Linked DNA regions of Homo sapiens: region 1 is linked to region 2. The links are contacts of gene promoters, found by promoter capture Hi-C in human tissues and cell types (Jung and others, 2019). All regions are on one chromosome and are shown on one strand. Each heading gives the region's core, a stretch centred on a gene start or on the middle of the fragment in contact. The rest is flanking DNA. Distances are from core to core; before and after follow the strand shown. Region 1 overlaps S100PBP (S100P binding protein). Region 2 holds the start of HPCA (hippocalcin).

Region 1 (2,797 bases), core at 118-2,617, 33 kb before region 2:
AGCATTATTGCATAGTGGCAAGGACATGGAGTCACACAGGAGCTAGTTGAATCCTGGGTCATCAAGAATTTCAGGGCCATGCATGGTGGCTCACACCTGTAATCCTAGCACTTTGGGAGGATCATTTGAGGTCAGGAATTGGAGTCCAGCCTCGCCAACATGATGAAACCCCATCTCTACTAAAAATATAAAAATTAGCCTGGCATGGTGATAGGCGCCTGTAGTCCCAGCTACCCAGGAGGCTGAGGCAGGGGAATCACTTGAACCCAAGAGGCAGAGGTTGCAGTGAACCGAAATCATGCCATTGCACTCTAGCCTGGACGACAGAGCAAGACTCTGTCTCAAAAAAAAAAAAAGTATTTCAGGCAAGTTCACCTCCCATAGTTTCCCATCTTTGAAATGATATTAATAACATCTATCTCCATGTAAGATTTTTTTTAGAATTAAGTAAGATAATATGTAAAGTGTCTAGTACATTGCTAGGATCCCAGGTGTTTGAGAAATTGCATCTAGCAATTTTTCTTGTTAGCAAAGAGCGCCCACCTCCATCTGTTCTAAACTCCTCTTGTTTCTTGAATGTATTTGCTGTCTTTTGTCTCTGGGGCTTTGTATTAACTGTTATCTTTTGGCATCCAACCTCCTACCCCTCTTTACCTCACTAATTTTATACATCCTTTAGATCCCTGCTATAGTTACTCCCCCTGGAGGGGGCTTTCCCTAACCCCCACCCCCCCAGTCTCTATAGCAGTCTGTATTTCTATCACTGCATTTATCACACCACTTTGGAATCATCTGTCTCCTGTATAAACTTCATTGAGGTAGTGTCTTGTTCACTGCCATATTCCTAGGGACAAGTAAAGTTCCCTGTATATTGTAGGAGCTAAGTGTTGAATGAATGAATGGTGGCTGCTATTATTGCTTCACCTTCACCCTCCAAGAGTAATCTCCCCATTCTGGTTTATAGTTTCTGTGCTCACTGCTTGTGATAATTGTAAGTATATATTGTTGAGAACAGTGCCTGTTTTCTCTTTCCCTGAAAACACATACTTTGACGTTGGCTGACGTAGTTCACTCAGCTGTTCCTAACCACTGATCCCTCTGTATCACAGGTATCTCGGGGGAGCTTTGTGCCTTGATGGATCAAGTTCATCATATGCAGCACTCAAAATGGCAGCATCCTTCGGACCTCACCACGCGGTGAGTGGGTGATTAGAAGAAGATGGAAAAGGGTAGAATGGCTGGGCGCGGTGGCTCACACCTGTAATCCCAGCACTTTGGGTGGCCAAGGTGGGTGGGTCGTTTGAGACCATCCTGGCTAACATGGTGAAACCCCATATCTACCAAAAATACAAAAATTAGCTGGGTGTGGTGGCAAGCATCTGTAGTCCCAGCCTCAGGAGGCTGAGGCAGGACAGTTGCTTGAATCTGGTGGCGAAGGTTGCAGTGAGCCAAGATGGTGCCACTGTACTCAAGCCTGGGCGGCAGAGCAAGACTCCGTCTAAAAAAAAAAAAAGAAAAGGCGGTGGGGGGGGGGCGCGTGAAATTTGGCTGCAGGAGGAATGTAGTGGGGAGTAGGGGTTGGAATTGTTTAATTCAAGAGGCAGGGGGAAAAAGTGATGCAGTATAATGGAATAAGAACTGGACTGAGGCTGAGCACAGTAGCTCACGCCTGTAATTCCAGCACTTTGGGAGGCCAAGGCAGGAGGATTGCTTGAGCCCAGGAGTTCGAGACCAGCCTGGCCAATGTGAGACCCCGTCGCTACAAAAAATACAAAAACTTAACTGGGCATGGTGGTGTGTGTCTGTAGTCCCTGAGAGTGCCTGAGAGAAAAGGATTGCTTGAAGCCCAGGAGCTTGAGGCTGTGATGAGCAATGATTGTGCCACTGCACTCCAGCCTGGGCAACAGGGCGAGACCCTGTCTCAAAAAACAAACAGACAAAACAAAAACTGGACTGAAATTCAGGAAACCTGAGTTCTAATACTAGCTTTGCAACTTGGTGTCAAAGGACCTTCCTAATTCTGAAATCTTCTGGAATTTTTTTTTTTTAAGACTCAAATTTAGTATTACAGTTTTCTGGATTCTTGATGCAGTGTGGCTGTACAAATTTATTCAGTTACTTTGATTCAGATACTCAAAAACCTTGGAATCATCTTTTACTTTTTTCTCTCTCACCCCATATTCAGTCTATCAGCAAATCCCATAGGTTCTGCATATACAGTTGTCCTTGGTATTCATGAGGGATTAGTTCCAGGACCCTCTCTGGATACCAAAATCCACAGATGCTCACGTTCCTTATATAAAATGCCATAGTGTTTGCATAACCTGTGCACATCCTTCCATATACTTTAAATCATCTCTAGATTACTTATGATAACTAATACAGTATAAATGCTATGCAAATAGTTGTTATACTGTATTGTTTAGGAAATAATGACAAGGAAAAATGTCTATACATGTTCGATACAGATGGAACCATTCATTTTTCTTCTTTGAATATTTTTGACCCATGGTTGGTTAAATCCATGGATGTAGAACCCATGGATATGGAGGGTCAGCTGTATATCCAAAGCCTAACTATTTCTCATCATTTGACCTGGATTGTTGCAAGTCTCCTAAATGGCCTCCCTGCTTCTGCCCTTGCCAGTGCACTGTTCACAACTCAGCAGCCAAAGAAAGAGATTCTTTTAAAGCATAAATCACATTTGCTCAATATTTCCCAGTGGCTTCCCATCTCACATCTTCCCATTCTCGTAATCCCCTACAAAGGCCTATATGCTTTGGCCTATGCTCACCGA
Region 2 (2,830 bases), core at 43-2,542:
CCTCAAAGTCTCTTCTTGACATAATAACCCAAGGAAGCTGTCCACATGGAGGTCACACCCTCTCACTCTGCTCAAAGCCCCCCAGGACTTCCCATCTCATCTGGAATAAAAAGCCTAAAGTCATTGTCATAGGCCCCAAGGCCCTGGATGGCCCCAATGGCAGTTACCATTCTAACTGCCACACCCAAATCCCAACGTTTAAAAACACATGTCTAATATCGACATGTATATTGTGTCCATTGTTTATTGTCTGCGCCTGTAGTCCCACTATCTAGACAGAACAATGCTGGCCGCAGAACTAGTGTTTTATATGTATTTGTGGAATGAATGGATGAGGGCGCACACACTGGAAAAATCACTTAACCCCTTTGAGCCCATTTCTTCATGGGGACAATAAGGACCAACCCCTAGAAATGGAAAAAGGACAAAATCTCAGCCCAGCATGCGGAGAATGTTGCTGAGGCTGGGGGCAGGAGGAGCTGGGCTAGGGGTCATCGACTCTGGAGAGGAGCTGTGCGGTCGGCAGGCAGTGGGTAGGTGCCACAGGATCCCCAGGCAGATGTTCTGCCCTCCTGTCATGGCCTGCACAATCAGAGGCTGGGGAGGGAGGAAGGGAGGGGGTTTCCTTGATTGGAAGGGGGAGTGGGAGGAGCAGCTGACACCAAAGTTGGGAGGTGGGATTAATTCTGAGAGGGGGGTCGGGGTGAGGTCTGGAGTGGTGGGTTTGACATGGGGGCCGGCTCGCCAAGGTGGAGGTGGGGAAGGGGGCGTGTCTGGTCCCCTACCCCGAAGACCTCAGTAGCTGGAGGAATGGGCGCTCCACGCTCCCAGCTCCGTTAGTTGGGAGTTGAGGCGCAGGAGCAGGGAGGGTGCCCAGGGTGCCAATTCGGCCCTCGAAGCGACGTGCGGCTCAGAGCCCAGGTGGGTATGGGGAAGGAAGCGGGGCGGAGTGGCCTGGGATCGCCCCCGGCTCAGGAGAGAGACCTCTTGGCACTACCGTGTCCCTCCATTCCGGCCACCAGAGCCGAGGTGCCGAGGAGAGGGGCGCCGCGATCCTCCTCCCCGGGCAGGGTGCTCCCTCGAGGGGGACCGGGGAACTGAGGGCGTCCCCTTCTCTCCGGGGCGGGGGTGGGGGGCGGAGCCCAGCGCGCCGCTCCCCAGCCCCCAGGGCTGGCGGGGACCCCCCCAGGGGAGGGGCTCCGGGTGAGCGCTGCGGGGCGTCTCCCTCGCAGTCCCGCCCGCCCCTCCTGCCGCCCCTGCCGCGCGCGCCGCAGCAGCGCCGCCTTCCCTGCGCAGTCGGTGTCTCCGCGTCGCTGGGTGAGTGGGGGCAGCTCCAGCCGGGGCCGGGGGATGAGGGCAGGGGGTTCCCGGAGCTGGGGGCCCACGTCCAGGGCTTCCCAACACCGCCGCTCCCGGGCTTCCCGGGAATCCTTGCCCCGGGTGGCGGGGGCGCTGGGGACTGGGAAGCGCGCGGTGCTCTCCAGGGTCCTGACCGCCGAGTGGCCGGCCCCTAGGAACCGCGTTCGACCGCCCTGGAGCGCCCCCTCCAGGAGGGGCCACGCGCCGGGCGCTGTCCTAGTGCTGAGCGGATGGAGGCGGGGGCTGGGGGACAGAGCTGAGGGAGGTTTGGAGCGGGTCCCCGGGGCTGGCTTCTCAGGTCGAGCTGAGGGGGTTCTTCCCATATGGGGGACTGGAGGTCTTTGCGGGCAGCTGAATCTTCTTGCAACCGGGAGGGGCAACTCCGAGGGTGGCAGGGCCCAGGGGGCACTGGAGGAGCTCTCTTGCTCCGCGCATCTCTCTGCCCCCACCCCGGTGACCCAGTTCCTTGGACCTTGAGGAGGGCAGTGCGGGACATGCCCCAGCCCTTCTCATTTCCTTAGCCCTTTCCCACTCACTTGTCCGGTGGGTCCTTAGCCTGGGCCATAAGAGGCTGGTCTAGAAAGGAGGGGCACCAACTTACAGAAACATGCATGTGACACACCGCCGAGGACACACACGGGTCCTCCAAATGGCCACACGGGCTCATTCCCTCACGCTGTGACGGGTGCATACCTGATCACATGCACATCTGAGGCACATGCAGGGACATAGATGGAAAGACACGGCAGGCAAATGCAATGCAAAAACCAGCGGCACACATCATGCATGAGCACATGCACTCACAACACACCCATTCACATGTGTGCAGAGCTTCATGCACATGTATGCACAAGGAGGCCCCTCCTTGCCCTAAGTGGGTGGGGGTCACCTGCACACACGCCTACATCCTTGTGCAGAACTGGCTGGCTGTTTCCTCTTCATTGCCTTCTACTCAGCCTCCACAATCTAACCTGCACTCAGGGGACCTTTCAGGACTAGATGAAGGGTAAGTGTTGGGGAGGCTTGGATGGGCTTGGTGGGGGGTCTCCTTGGAAAAGGGGCCCCGAGCAGGTCTGGGAAGGTTTGCAGCTCCCTCTCCTGGGACCTGGCAGCACCCCTGGGAAAACAGAAGGAAAACAAAGAAAAATGGCAAGGGTGCCTGAAGGTCCCACGTGCAGCTGGCCATGTGAGAGGTGTCGGCATGCGAGTTGGCGTGTGATGGCATGTGTGAGACATGTGGGGTCGTGGGCTGGTGTGTCTTGATGCACAGGGTATGGGAGTTGTGCGTGGTGCCATGTGTCGATTCGTGTGAGTTGTGGAGCAGAGGGAATGTCGTCATGTGTGGAGGCATGCTGACCCATGGGTGGGCGTGGGCTGGTACGTGAGTGGCATGGGATCCAGGGTGTGGATCTGGTGAGCTATGAAGCATACAGTTATCGGTATACATTCATTTGCACAGTTTTTGCATGAG

The links. The method cuts DNA at HindIII sites, captures the fragments that hold promoters and counts their contacts. A contact is called where the count stands out against the background at its distance.
Region 1: a fragment that was not itself captured here is called in contact with the fragment with the promoter of HPCA in region 2 in 6 of the 25 tissues and cell types used here (bladder, mesenchymal stem cells, ovary and 3 more).

What each region holds. Positions count from the first base shown.
Region 1 is chr1:32,851,970-32,854,766 of GRCh38, forward strand. It overlaps S100PBP (S100P binding protein), which reads left to right. Exons shown (of 7, transcript NM_022753.4): 6 at 1,110-1,197. Among named protein-coding and RNA genes, the nearest start is that of FNDC5, 18 kb to the right of the region's middle. RefSeq lists an enhancer at 2,048-2,217. The HindIII fragment of the contact is 6,967 bases long and covers 1-2,797 here.
Region 2 is chr1:32,885,199-32,888,028 of GRCh38, forward strand. HPCA (hippocalcin) reads left to right here and starts at 1,293. Exons shown (of 4, transcript NM_002143.3): 1 at 1,293-1,317. RefSeq lists silencers at 1,412-1,501, 1,582-1,631, an enhancer at 1,887-2,056 and a cis regulatory region at 1,972. The HindIII fragment of the contact is 37,453 bases long and covers 1-2,830 here.